Linked DNA regions of Homo sapiens: regions 1, 2, 3 and 5 are each linked to region 4. The links are contacts of gene promoters, found by promoter capture Hi-C in blood cells and fetal thymus (Javierre and others, 2016). All regions are on one chromosome and are shown on one strand. Each heading gives the region's core, a stretch centred on a gene start or on the middle of the fragment in contact. The rest is flanking DNA. Distances are from core to core; before and after follow the strand shown. Region 1 holds the start of ZNF683 (zinc finger protein 683). Region 2 overlaps CRYBG2 (crystallin beta-gamma domain containing 2). Region 3 holds the start of DHDDS (dehydrodolichyl diphosphate synthase subunit). Region 4 holds the start of TRIM63 (tripartite motif containing 63). Region 5 has its middle 18 kb from the start of ZNF683.

Evidence for each region. Contacts are between HindIII fragments. The CHiCAGO score rates a contact against its expected background, and 5 or more counts as called.
Region 1: the fragment with the promoter of ZNF683 here is called in contact with the fragment with the promoter of TRIM63 in region 4 in 6 of 17 cell types (M1 macrophages, monocytes, M0 macrophages and 3 more); the score reaches 6.1 in M1 macrophages.
Region 2: a fragment that was not itself captured here is called in contact with the fragment with the promoter of TRIM63 in region 4 in 1 of 17 cell types (M1 macrophages); the score reaches 5.7 in M1 macrophages.
Region 3: a contact is called between the fragment with the promoter of DHDDS here and the fragment with the promoter of TRIM63 in region 4, in 2 of 17 cell types (M1 macrophages and M0 macrophages). The highest score is 5.5, in M1 macrophages.
Region 5: a fragment that was not itself captured here is called in contact with the fragment with the promoter of TRIM63 in region 4 in 6 of 17 cell types (M2 macrophages, M1 macrophages, M0 macrophages and 3 more); the score reaches 9.5 in M2 macrophages.

What each region holds. Positions count from the first base shown.
Region 1 is chr1:26,371,408-26,374,107 of GRCh38, forward strand. It overlaps ZNF683 (zinc finger protein 683), which reads right to left and starts at 1,343. Exons shown (of 6, transcript NM_001114759.3): 1 at 1,262-1,343. The HindIII fragment of the contact is 11,410 bases long and covers 1-2,700 here.
Region 2 is chr1:26,349,147-26,351,846 of GRCh38, forward strand. The region is part of intron 1 of CRYBG2 (crystallin beta-gamma domain containing 2); the gene reads right to left. Among named protein-coding and RNA genes, the nearest start is that of CRYBG2, 3.6 kb to the right of the region's middle. RefSeq lists an enhancer at 223-1,069 and a silencer at 2,285-2,483. The HindIII fragment of the contact is 1,767 bases long and covers 460-2,226 here.
Region 3 is chr1:26,430,926-26,433,625 of GRCh38, forward strand. DHDDS (dehydrodolichyl diphosphate synthase subunit) reads left to right here and starts at 1,396. Exons shown (of 9, transcript NM_205861.3): 1 at 1,396-1,451; 2 at 1,966-2,083. The coding sequence starts at 2,021. LOC124903883 (a long non-coding RNA gene) reads right to left here and starts at 1,312. Exons shown (of 2, transcript XR_007065557.1): 1 at 1,048-1,312; 2 at 1-193. RefSeq lists enhancers at 615-1,151, 936-995, 1,066-1,125, 1,152-1,688, 1,226-1,715. The HindIII fragment of the contact is 8,751 bases long and covers 1-2,700 here.
Region 4 is chr1:26,066,284-26,068,983 of GRCh38, forward strand. It overlaps TRIM63 (tripartite motif containing 63), which reads right to left and starts at 1,347. Exons shown (of 9, transcript NM_032588.4): 1 at 1,053-1,347; 2 at 1-157. The coding sequence starts at 1,211. The HindIII fragment of the contact is 10,936 bases long and covers 1-2,700 here.
Region 5 is chr1:26,389,854-26,392,553 of GRCh38, forward strand. No RefSeq gene overlaps it. Among named protein-coding and RNA genes, the nearest start is that of ZNF683, 18 kb to the left of the region's middle. The HindIII fragment of the contact is 474 bases long and covers 1,079-1,552 here.

The DNA.
Region 1 (2,700 bases), core at 93-2,592, 310 kb after region 4:
TGGGCAACAAAGCAAGACCTCATCTCTACAAAAAATACAAAACTTAGCTGGGCATGGTGACTTGCACCTCTGGTCCCAGCTACTCAGGAGGCTGAGGCAGGAGGATCACTTGAGCCCAGGAATATAAGGCTGCAGTGAACTAGGATATTGCCACTGCACTCTAGCCTGGGTGACAGAGAAAGACCCTGTCTCTTTAAAAAAAAAAAAAATAGACATAGCAAAATGGGTGTAAGGCATGACTAGGCCAGGTGTGGTGGCTCACATCTGTAATCCCAGCACTTTGGGAGGCTGAGGTGGGCCAACTGCTTGAGCCCAGGAGTTCAAGACCAGCATGAGCAACATGGTGAAACACCATCTCTACAAAAAATACAAAAATTAGCCAGGCATGGTAGCGCATGCCTGTTGTTCCAGCTACTCAGGAGGCTGAGGTGGGAGGATCACTTGAGCCAGGGAGGTCGAGACTGCAGTGAGCTGAGATCATGCCACTGCACTCCAGCCTGGGTGACAGAGCGAGACCCTGTCTTAAAAAAAGTTAATAAATAAGGAAAAGACATGTCTAGATACAAAAAGGGAGACCTCATAGGCCAGAAAGTGGCTTTTTAGCCTGAGCAATGTCATTATTCTTGTGAGCATGAGAAGAGGCATCACCCCTGCGGCCTTACACAAATTCTGGTGTGCGTGAGTCTGGCCCAGGGTGCAAAAGCCCCAACCAGCCATCAATCTGCACCCCAGCCACGCCACCCTGGTGTCCCAGAATATACAGGGACATCTCAGGCTGTGCACCATGGGCTGGGGCATGTTCCTGGGGTTTCTCTGCCAGCTCAGCCCCTAGGGCTGTGACTCATCCTCCACATAACTGATCCCAACATGTTTGTGAGCATCTCAAGGACAGGGTCCTCTGTCTACTCATTTTGGTTTTCCATGTAGACATCTGTCAGGTTTTTTTGGACGCCCAGCCTCTGAAACTTTTCCCCTACATGAGTCTTGAGGGAGGCAAAAGGTACCTCCCATTATAAAAGCCGAAATGGCCAAATACTTAATTCCAACCTCCCTCACCAGCACTTCATGCAGGCATACATGGACTAGGTCGATCAGATGTCCCCACCCAGAAGGGGTGACCCGCACACCTTTGGCTTCCATCTGCCAGCTCTGCCCTCTCCTGGCATCACACTCTGCTCCCAACTCTCAGAACACCTTGCACAACTTCTCTGTTAGAAAAAAATAAAAACTACTTCCCCTCTATCCGCACTTCCCAACCTACTCTGGTGATCATGGGCTTTCCTTGGCTTGGGTCTCTGGTCTGGGTCAAGGCATCTGCTCAGGTTCCTCAGTTAGAAGACCATGGTCCTCCCTTTGTGCTACCTCCCCAGGGCATGTGGGACAAAGTGACATCACATTTAGGCCTGTGACATCACAGGGCATGGAGGCTGACAAGACAGATGATCTGGGAGACGAGAGCAAGGAAGGGCTTGGCAGGCAGAGGCTGCTCCATGTGGGAACCTGAGGGAGTCTGTCTTAGCCCACCTCCTGGGACATTTCCTTGCCAAGCCGAGTCTTGTGAGCATGAGAAGAGGCATAACCCCTGTGGCCTCACACAAATTCTGGTGTGCGTGAGTCTGGCCCAGGGTACAAAAGCCCCAAGCAGCCATTAATCTCCACTGCAGCCCAGTAGACTAGCAGATCAGAAGCTAGTGCCACTGGCTGAGCGCAGTGGCTCACGCCTGTAATCCCAGGACTTTGGGAGGCCGAGGCGGGCAGATCACTTGAGGTCAGGAGTTCAAGACCAGCCTGGCCAACATGGTGGGACCCCATCTCTACAAAAATACAAAAATTAGCCAAGTGTGGTGGCACGTGCCTGTATTTCCAGCTACTTGGGAGACTGAGGCAGGAGAATTGCTTGAACCCGGGAGGCGGAGGTTGCAGTGAGCTGAGATGGCTCTGCTACACTCCAGGCTGGGCAACAGAGTGAGGCTCCATCTCAAAATAAAATAAAATACAATAAAAAAAGCCACTGGTCCTGAGGTGGCAGGTCTGTGGAAACTCCTCTCTACAACAAAGGCTGTGGTACCACATCCGGCTTCCAGGGCAGTGAAGGAAAGAAGGGGGTTCAGGGGAGGCTGCAGAATCTGTGCAGGGCTGGTCCTGGGGTGTGATATTTGGCCATGGTCCTGTCTACTTCCAGCCTCCCTTGATCCATCCTATTCTCCAAGCCTTGCTCTCCAGCCTTCTCAGACCTCCTGCGAGCTTTTCTAACATCTTTTAAACAAATTCCTTCTGCTTAACTCCTCCTGAAATGGTTTTTGTAGCTTACAACTGATAATTCTGCATTATACATGCCCAGAATAGAAGATAAAGTAACAGGGTTCCAGCTGGAATTGTCCAAGGAACAGAGTAAATAGCCACCTTTACAAACAGCTTTCTTGCTGTGTCTGGCACTGTGCTAGGGGCTTCATAAACTTTATCTCATTTAGTCTTCACAATAAGCCTGTGTGGTGGATTTTATTATTAGCAGCTCATCCAGAGTCACACAACAAGTAGCCAAGAGCTCTTTAGTGGTAAACCTCAGACTCTGCCATCTCTTGGCCATGTCAGCTTCCCCCACTACGACAGCCACCCCCTCATTTCTTTCTTTCTTGCTCTCTCTTCCCACATGCTGTTCCCAGTCCTTCCCCCAACTCCTCAGTGGCCCCCTCAGTATCC
Region 2 (2,700 bases), core at 93-2,592, 280 kb after region 4:
CAACAGAGCGAGACTCTGTCTCAAAATTAAAATTTTAAAAAAAAAGTAAATAAATGGAGCCCCTTGGCTCCGTTAGGGCACTTGGGCTTTACAAGGCACTCTTCCCTCGATTCTGTCCTCTGTGATTTTTTCCCTACTGAAGGTTAAGAAACCGAGGGTCAGAGAAGACGAGTGACTGGCCCAGGATGACGCGGCTATGAGGTTGTCAAGCAGGGATTTAAATTCCCATCTTCTGATTTCACATCCAGGCATCCTCCCTCCTACCCCCAGGCCACAGCTCTGGGGCATGTCCAGCTGCTCCTGTGATCATCCTCAGCAGAGCATGTCTCACCCTCCGTCCTGGAGGGGTGGGGCCTGGGTCTTGTTTCTTTTCTGACTCTTCCTTGATCTCTCTGGGTCTCCATAGCCTCCCTTACTAAATGTAGGATAATATTAACACCTGCCAAAGAAGACCTTCTAAGCTTCTGCTATGGCTTGAATATTTGTCCCCTCCAAAACTCATGTTGAAACTTAATCCCCAATGTGGTAATATTGAGAGGTGGGGCCTCTAAGCAGTGATTGGGTTATGAGGGCTATGCCTCATGAATGGATTAATATACTCATGGATTAATAGATTAATGGTTTAATGGATTAATGAGTGATCATGGGAGTAGGACTAGAGGCTTTTTTTTTTTTTTTTTTTTTTTGAGACAGGGTTTTGCTCTGTTGCCCAGGCTGGAGTGCAGTGGCACAATCTCAGCTTACTGCAACCTCTGCCTCCTGGGCCCAAACAGTCCTCCCACCTCAGCCCACCGAGTAGCTGGGACTACAAGCCTGCACCGCTATGCCTGGCTAATTTTTGTATTTTTTGTAGAGTTGGGGTTTCACTATGTTGCCCAGTCTGGTCTCAAACTCCTGAGCCTAAGAGATCTGCCCACCTCCGCCTCCCACAGTGCTGGGATTACAGGTGTGAGCCATTGTGCCTGACCGGACCAGTGGTTTTATAGGAAGAGGAAGGGACACCTGAACTAGCACCTCAGCCCCACTGCCATGTGATGCTCTGAGCCCCCTCGGGACTCTGCAGAGAATCACCAACAAGGTTCTTACCAGATGCACCCCCTTGACCTTGGGCTTCCAGGTTCAGGTATTCCATTATAAGCAACAGAAAATAGACTAAGCTCCCTAGGAACTCTCAGGTGAATTTCTCTGTTTTACTAGTTGCAACAACAACAAAAACAGCCATTTGGGGAGGGCTGACTCTGCCAAACACCTTGCTAAGTGCTTTAGATTCATTGTCCCATTGAAGCCTCAGAAGAATCCCAGGAGCTTGAGACCTCATAAAGAATAAATTATTAATAAATTAGATCATACCTTCCCATTTTGCAGATGAGATTTTTTAAATGCTCAGAGAGGTTAAGAAACTTGTCCAAAGTCACAGAGTAACCGAAACAAGACTTGAACCCCAACCCTAAGTGCTCACTCACCATACCAAACTCCCTAATATATGTATCCTATAACTGAGTCTCTGGTTTGGGGGTTTACATTTACAGGGAGCCATGTCAGTCCTGGAGGGCGTCTCCACCCCCACTCCCTGACTTCCAAGCTACACTGACCAGGGCAATCCTATTCTTAGGCCCCACGAACCCCAGAGAGGCCAGCCTGTTCAGCCCGAGTCTTTGGGCCTTCTCCATGAGGTACCCTCCCCTCCCCAAGAGACCTGACTCTGGGCAGGAAATGGACCCACTGCCCCCACTCCCCTCCCCCATTTCCCATTGTCCTCCTTCCTGAGAAGCTGGTGGAATTCAGAACTTTGACCCTTCCCTGTGGCCACAGCAGTGACTCAGGCTTTATGAGGGGCAGAGATGAAAGAGACTGAAGCCCCGGGAAGCCTGACCTGACTCCAGGACTGCTGGTGGCTATGACAGTGTCAGGGACAGGGTCCAAGGGGGACTGGAAGGTGGAGGGGTTAGGTAGAGCCCTGGTCATTTTCCCAGGCCAGGGCTTCCTGAGAGCAGTACACAGCCAGACACCAAAGGCTCTGGATTTTAGCCTCTCACTGAGGCCCCAGCCCACTCCCCTGTCCCCATTAGGGAGCTCCCTTTTTCCTCATGCAACCCCTGCCCTCCTCGCTGGGACTCTGCCCAAATGAAGTTTGACGCCCTCGCTGAGCACCTCCTAAGCCCCTGTCCACCTGCCTTCCACTCTCCGAGCTTCCTTGTCTCTGATGGTGCTTATAGTAAGTGGCAAAGCTTGAGCTCTAACTCATTCATTCATTCATTCAATTACTCACTCATTCAGTGCTAATTGTATCAAGGGATGTGCTAGGCCTTGGCTAGACTCAACCAGAACCAGAGCCAACTTTCTCATGAAAGGTGGCATATTAAGAAGCCAGGGGCCAAGGAATTAGACATAAAAACAGGGACATTTGGAAAGCGCCATAGGCATCAGGAAAGCGACAGGAGAGCAATGTTAAAGGAGGCGGCCGATCATGAGATCAGATATTGTCGATGACCTCCTACCAATCAGAATTTAACGTCTTTCTCAACCAGCCCAACCCCTGGACAACACCCCTGATAGCCAGTCATTCCACAAGCATGTGGTCATTGGCTTCTGCCTGCATACCTCCAGGGACAGGGAGGTCACCACTCGACAGTTCACCTGCCCCGTCCCTGAACAGTCATGAGTGCTAGAATGTCCTTCAGACTCTGCTGGAATGTGCCT
Region 3 (2,700 bases), core at 146-2,645, 360 kb after region 4:
CCTGGCCAAAATGGTGAAACCCTGTCTCTACTAAAAATACAAAAATTAGCCAGGCTTGGTGGCACGCGCCTGTAGTCCCAGCTACTCAGGAGGATGAAGCAGGAGAAACGCTTGAACCCGGGAGGCGGAGGCTGCAGTGAGCCGAGATCGCGCCACTGCACTCCAGCCTGGGCGACATAGCCAGACTCCGTCTCTAAATAAATAAATAAATAAATAAATAAATAAAAATAATACTGGTTGTATAAGAATCTGTAAAGAATTTTTTCCTCCTCTTTCAATTTTGAGAAAATTGAACTACAAATTTGTTTTGTGAGCCTAGAATTCTTGCAACCCTTTTTTTCGTAAAGGTTCAGTAGAGCTAATGCCCTTAACTTTTCTACCAGGGTTAATTTCTGTTATTTTCATTTATGTACTGCCAAAGCGAGCACCTTTCTGTTATTTTAGAAGTCATGCTTTTTTTTTTTTTCTTTTTTCAGACAGAGTTTCGCTCCTGTTGCCCAGGCTGGAGTGCAGTGGCCTGATCTTGGCTCACCGCAACCTCCGCCTCCCGGGTTCAAGCGATTCTCTTGCCTCACCCTCCCGAGTAACTGGGATAACAGGCGCCCGCCACCACGCCCGGCTCATTTTCTGTATTTTTAGTACAGACGGGGTTTCACGATGTTGGTCAGGCTGGTCTCAAACTCCTGACCTCAGGTGATCCGTTCGCCTCGGCCTCCCAAAGTGCTGGGATTACAGGCGTGAGCCACCGCGCCTGGCCTAGAAGTCATTCTTATGGCAGAAATCTTTCTGGCCTTACCCCTTCTCTTGAGTTCGTTGGGATAGGTCTTGGGAATCCACAAATCCTAAAATATGCGTGCCTTAAGTCGGCACAAAATAGATTAATATTCTGCGCGTCTGTAAGATTGGCTGCGGCTAGAAACTCCTTCCCAGACGATTAAATCCACTAAATAAAATACGAAACGGTAACGAGATAATTTTTAAGAGTATGCACCAGTGCTCTAATGAAGCCCGGTTCTGCGGCATTCCAAGGTAAGGACGCTGCCTTACCCAGTCTCTCAGCAGTCCTAAGCTGCCTTCGACGGCCGAGAAGCGCCTCGATTCTTGCCCCTGGCTCATTTCCCTGGCGCGTTTTCCAGACGCCTCCGCTCCCAACGCTGGGCTCAACCCTGTCTTCCCCAGCTGGTCTCCCAGCACGTGGCCTGGAGCCCAGCCTCCCGCCCCGCTCGGTCACGTGAGCCTGGCTCTCACCCGCGCCGGCTTCCACACCCCGCGGGACTGAGAACCGCCCTCCCACTAGCTCGCAGGCGCAGGCGCAGGGCAGGGTCCCCTCAGTTTGGGTGACGGAAGGGGCGTGTCGCAGCGCCCAAAGATGACGTGTTCTGCCAGCGCCACGTCATGAGGAAGTGCCGGCCCACTGAAGCCGTGGGGACGCGCCCAGCGGAGCTAATCAGGTGCCACTGAACTGAAGGGGTGAACTAGAGGAGAAGAGGGTGACTGGGCGGGGAGCAGCTGCGGGAGAAGCAAAGGGACGACTGAGGGAATAATCAGGAGACCACTGAGGCGTGAAGTACTAGGCGTGCGATAACTGAAGGAGTTAGTAACTGGGAGCACAGAGTTGGAAACAGCTTAGGGGAAGATGGAGAAGGAAGAAACGGGGAATGATCAAGATGTGGGCACCATGATGTGGCAGGAAACCGACTTAGATGTTCAGAAGAAGTCAGTGCAGATACGGAGGAAATGGGAATGGGAAGAAGTCTGCAAAGCCAGGAGAACCGAGGAAAGGCTTTTGCCTCCAGAGGTCACATTGCGTTATAAAACTCTGGGTGGTAAAAGATTATAGGCTTAGACCAGTGTCTTTGGATTCTAATGCTGGCTGCTCTCCATAGTCCATCTGATTCCCCAGAAGTCAGTTATAGCTCTTCGCAAACCTTGGTGACTTCTTATTTTCTTTCTTGTTTATCCAAGATTACCTGGCTGGTGTTTGCTTGTTCTGGAGTGATCTTCTGACTGGAAAAGAACTATGTCATGGATCAAGGAAGGAGAGCTGTCACTTTGGGAGCGGTTCTGTGCCAACATCATAAAGGTGAGCAATGGCCCAGAGCACCGGTTGGCCTTCTGGTCAGTTGGATAATCTTATATAAAAACCTGTTATTAAAGTTGATGATGTTAAGTGCAATTCATGATGTTAAGTGGAATTTAGCAAGGAAACCAAAGAGTCTTAGAATGGTAACTTCCAGGTCTACATTTCTGGTAGACTTTTGTCCTAACTCTGATATTTTCTGGAAGCCCAGGCCTCTTAATGTCACTGGGCAGCCTAGACTGCTAAGTATTCTTTATAGAGAACTGAAATTTGTTTCCCTGGAACATTGATCCATTGTTCCATGTACTGTCTTCTTGATTTAAATAGGTTAATCTTTGATATATTCTTTGATCTGTCAGTAGAGCTGGGCCCGGTCACTCACGCCTGTAATCCCAGCAATTTGGGAGGCTGAGGTGGGCAGATTGTTTGAGCTCAGGAGTTGAGACCAGCCTGGGCAACATGGCAAAACCCCGATTCTCCAAAAAATTAAAAAAATAGCAGGGCTTGGTGGTGTGCACCTGTAGTCCCAGCTACTCGGAAGGCTGAAGTGGGAGAATTTCTTGAGCCCAGGTCAAAGCTGCAGTGAGTCATGATTGTGCCACCACACTCCAGCCTGGGTG
Region 4 (2,700 bases), core at 97-2,596:
TGTAGATGTCGATGATGTTCTCCACCAGCAGGTTCCTCTGCAGGCCGTACACTCCGTGACGATCCATGATCACCTCGTGGCGGCAGGTGGGGCAGCGGAAACGGCCTCCAGACATGGACACTGAGCTGCCCCGGCTGGTCCAGTAGGGATTTGCAGCCTGCAGGTGGCAAAGGTCAAGGTGAGGCCTGGGCTCCCTACTTAGCCCTTCTCTTTTCTAATCTCCTCTTATCCTTTCCTCTGCCTATCCGAACCACCCCCGTCAAACCTAACAACCTGGAGCTCTGCAGACTGTGATGAGAACCAGTCCTCACACACAGAGCACCTGAGAAGCAGCTAAGCAATCGTCAGGATGGGGAGGCAGGAGACCTGGGTTCAAGTCATGTTTATTCTCTGAGTGATTTTGGGCAAGCAACCTTATCTGTGTAGGCCTCAGTTTGCCCACTTATGAAATAGGTATTACAATGAGAGCAAGCTCCTAAGGCTGCTACTTTAAAGATAATATCGTGAAAGAACATTTTGTAAAGTGTCCATGGGGAACCTCGCATCCTGCCTCCCAGCCAGGACATCTACCCCCTTCCTTTCTCGGGGAGTTGGAGCCCCTTCTGCCCCCATATCATAGGGAACAGCCTCAAAAGGGAAGATGCCTCTACTGCCCACTGCCTCCCTGACACCCTCCTCCCAAAGCTCTGGGCCTCTTGCCACCAGGACCTGGCTCCAGCCCCAGGGGTCTGGTTTCTCTCTCCTGTCCCTGCCTACCCCGCTTATCACTTGAGGCATTTGACTCTTGATTGGAGAGTCAACAGCAGTGCTCAGGGCAGGGGTGGGGGAGCTGTGGGCAGGGCAGGGAGGGGAAACTTGTGTTATGGAGAAGAACCGCAGCAGCCAGAGCCGCCTCCCAGCCCCCTCTCAGCCCTGTCCAGAGGCCTCTGCAGGGGTTCACTTCCAAGGGGAAAGAGGCTGTCCAGGTTGGAAGTCTAAGGGAGAAGGGTTTCATCACAGGGAAGCCAAGTAGCCACCTGGGGACCCCAAATGAAGCTGCACCCGGCACTTACCTGGAAGATGTCATTGGCACACTTCCGGCACAGGTTGTGCTGGCACGGCAAGATGACCACTGGCTTGGTAAACATCTCCAGGCAGATAGGGCAGATCAGCTGCTTCTCCAAGTTCTCCATGGGATTCCCATCCTGGATCAGGCTCGACTTATAATCCATTCTGTGGGAAGGAATGAGAGCCACGCCTAGCTGCCTCCTCTACTAACTTTGCTCTAAGTAGACCTGGGGGTCTTGCCTTTGTCACAAAACACCGGGTCGGATCCTGTTGGCTTCCTTCTCCTGGTGCCCGAATTCTGTCTTGGTCTGAGGCCCCTCTGATATTTATAGCTAGATCTTGGTCACATGAGCCCCAGGAGGGGACCAGCTGAGCATTCCGATGCCAAGCGGCTGGTGGGGCTTGAGTTTCCTCCAGGCCTGAAAGACTGGCCCTCTCAAATCACATGCAGGGATGAGCAATCACTATTCTGCTGGGACGGGGGTCATAAACAAGAACAGCCTGTTCAGAGGCAGGCTTAGGGCAAGACTGGGTACCCAGAGCTTCCTCCAGAAATTGGTCTCCCCCCGGCACCAGGCTAGTGGGTCAGGGATGGGACCCAGCAAGTGAGCCACGGGGATTCAAGGGGTTAATAGCCAATGCTATGATGAAAATGTTCGATGAATGAATTTTATTCATTCATCAGACATTTTTCTGAGTACTAGTATATACATCAGGCAACTAGTATACATCACAACGTGACAGATGGATGAGTGATCTGTTTCCCTGCCCCGAGAAACTCACAGCCCAGGAAGGGAGATAGAAAGGATTGTGCAGTGGCACGATCTCTGCTCACTGCAACCTCCACCTCCCAGGTTGAAGGGAGTCTCCTCCTTCAGCCTCCCAACCTCAACCCCCTCCCAGCCCCACGCAACCCCTCACTGACCTAAATCAATTCCATCCCCTCCTCTGGAGTCCTGGGCAGCTCCTAGATGGAAGGGTCGGGCAGCCCCTCTCTCTGAGCCCATCCCTCTGCCTCAGACTTCAGCACAGCATTTTGCTGGAGATGATGGAGACCCCCACTCCAACCAGCCCATCCTCCATCCCTCGGCCACTTATTTCACTTAGTGCTGAAAAGCCTCCTTTGAAACACAGTCCAGTCCCCTCATCTTACAGATTTTGAAATGGGACTAGAGAAGAAAAGGATTATATTCAAAGTCAGTTGGAAAGTAAGTGGCAGCCGGGCGTGGTGTCTCACACCTGTAATCCCAGCACTTTGGAAGGCTGAGGCAGGTGGATCACTTGAGGTCAGGAGTTCGAGACTAGCCTGGCCAACATGGTAAAACCCTGTCTCTACTAAAAACACAAAACTTAGCTGGGTGTGGTGGTACGCGCCTGTAATCCCAGCTACTCAGGAGGCTGAAGCAGGAGAATCACTTGAACCCAGGAGGTGGAGGTTGCAGTGAGCTGAGATCGCGCCACTGCACTCCAGCCTGGGTGACAAGAGTGAAACGCCATCTCCAAACAAAACAAAACAAAACAAAAAAGAAAGAAAATAAGTGGCAAAGACAGAAATTTTATTCATTCATCAGACATTTTTCTGAGTACTAGTATACATCAGGTAACTAGTATACATCACAACGTGACAGATGGATGAGTGATCTGTTTCCCTGC
Region 5 (2,700 bases), core at 66-2,565, 320 kb after region 4:
CTGCACAGAGGAGGACAGCCTCAGGGCCTGAAGGGCCAGCCAGTTTTGGAGGGGCATCTAGGAGCAGAATGAGGAGGAAGGGGCAGGGTTAGTGATTTTTGTTTTGTTTTGTTTTGTTTTGTTTTGTTTTGAGACAGGGTCTTGCTCTGTCATCCAGGTTGGAGTACAGTGATGCAATCACAGCATACTGCAACCTCAACCTCCCAGGCTCAAGCAATCCTCCCACCTCAGCCTCCTGCATAGCTGGGGCTGCAGGTACGTACCACCACTCCCAGCCAAGGTTAGTATTGAGAAGGTCAGGGGATCAGATTCTCAGAGAGCAGGTTCTGTGTCTTTCCCATCTGACCAGGGGTTCCCCTGGTTGAGTCCTGGTCTCACCTTGAGATGAGGAGGCCCCCACAGGGTGGGCTCTGTGCCTTCTATTAATATTAGATTGACCGGGCATGGTGGCTCATGCCTGTAATCCCAGTACTTTGGGAGGCTAATGCAGACGGATCATTTAAGATCAAGAGTTCAAGACCAGCCTGGCCAACATGGTGAAACCCTGTCTCTACTAAAAATACAAAAATTAGCCGGTCGTGGTAGCAGGCACCTATAATCCCAGCTACTTGGGAGGCTGAGGCAGGAGAATCACTTGAACCTGGGGTACGGAGGTTGCAGTGAGCTGAGATTTTGCCACTTCACTCCAGCCTGGGCAGAAGAGCGAAACTCCATATCAAAAAAAAAAAAAAAAAAAAAGGCCGGGTACGGTGGCTCACGCATGTAATCCCAGCACTTTGGGAGGCTGAGGCGGGCAGATTACCAGGTCAGGAGATCGAGACCATCCTGGCTAACATGGTCAAACCCCATCTCTACTAAAAATACAAAAAATCAGCCGGGCATGGTGGTGGGCGCCTATAGTCCCAGCTACTCGGGAGGCCGATGTAGGATAATGGCGTGAACCCGGGAGATGGAGGTTGCAGTGAGCCGAGATCGTGCCACTGCACTCCAGCCTGGATGACAGAGTCAGACTCCACCTCAAAAAAAAAAAAAAATCATTTGCACACATTACTTAACTCCTCCCAAGGAGAAGCCCTGAAGCTTAAGCTAAATCTACCTCTGTTCCACTCATTCCTGGAAGACAGGTTTTGAGTTTGATTACTTTGGAAAGGCCTCAGAGGTCTGCTGGCTCTCTGTCCTTGCCTTCTCTTTAAAAAAAAAAAAGTGATTACCAGGAAAATTGCGCCTTGGGAAATGGAGGCCCCGGCTGTGTGTGTGCACGTGTGTGTGTGTGTCTGTGTGTGTGTCCACATGCATGCATTCTACAATTTAAAGGGTTAAACCTCCAACCAAAGCTGAATCCAGCTGTGCACAGGTTTCTCTGTTCATCCCTCTAAAGGAACCTTGATCTTCTCTGCTTCAAGGTCTGTATAAATTGTTCCCTCTGCCTGAAACACACTCTCAACACATGCACACACATACAAACGCCCCCCCTTTACCTCTTTTTCACATTTTCTTTGGTCAAGATTTAGGCATCTGTTAAGTCTCTGTTTCAAAATCAGTTTCTGAGGAAAGCTTTTTTCTGATCTCCTTTCCCTTAAATTAAATCACTATAACTATTTGTTCACTGTAATCCTGCCCTGCTGGTGCCACAAGGCCTGGAACCTCATTTGTCTGTGTATCTATCTTGTTCATGCCTGTATTTTTCCAGTCTGTGGCATGGTGTCTGGCACATAGTGGCACTCAAACAACGTTTCAATGTATGAATGAATGAATGAACAACGGAACTTAGTGATGGTGGATGAGGAAAGGGGTCATGTGGGGTAAGGGTGTCCCCTGCTGGACATTGAGAGTACCCAGGGCATCCTCTCTGAGCTGGGAAGAATGACTCTCGGTCATAAATTTCCTCCCTGAGGGGCAGAGTTGGGGAACCTCACCTTATGCCCAGACTGCTGATGCATGCCTTCTTCTTACCTCTATCAGCCCCCACACCACTGTCCTCCCAGCCTTCAGAGCATCCGTCCCCACCCCCAGTGGCCTGACCCACCCTCCCCCACGCTGCAGACCACATCAGCAAGGCTGTGGAGCGCCACAGCGATTTCTGCATCCTCTCCACAATGAATATCCACCCCCTCTTAAACCTTTTGCTTTGAATAAGAATAGGCCCAGAGTCCTCCATCGATCCTCTTTCCCCCTCCTCCCAAATCAATCAATCAGTAGTGATTGGCTGGGACACTGGGGTGGAGGTGGACGAGGACTGGTGGGTGAAGAGCAAGGAAAGTTGGTGGGGTGGTGGTGGGGTAGGTGAGTGTGTTTCTGAAACAGGATCCCGCTAAAAGTATGGCAGAACAGTGGATTTCTCTGGAGGAGAATAGTTGGTGAGAAGATACCTGGGATGAGGTATTTAGAAAAAGGTGAATGAGAAATTCCTGACTACTGTCTTTTTTTTTTTTTTTTTTTGAGATGTAGTCTTGCTCTTGTTGCCAAGGCTAGAGTGCAATGGGGCAATCTTGGCTCACTGCCACCTCCACCTCCCGGGCTCAAGTGATTCTCCTGCCTCAGTCTCCCAAATAGCTGGGATTACAGGTGCCTGCCACCAAGCCTGGCAAATTTTTTGTATTTTTAGTAGAGATGGGGTTTCACCATGGTAGCCAGACTGGTCTCGAACTCCTGACCTCTGGTGATCCACCTGCCTCCGCCTCCCAAAGTGCTGGAATTATA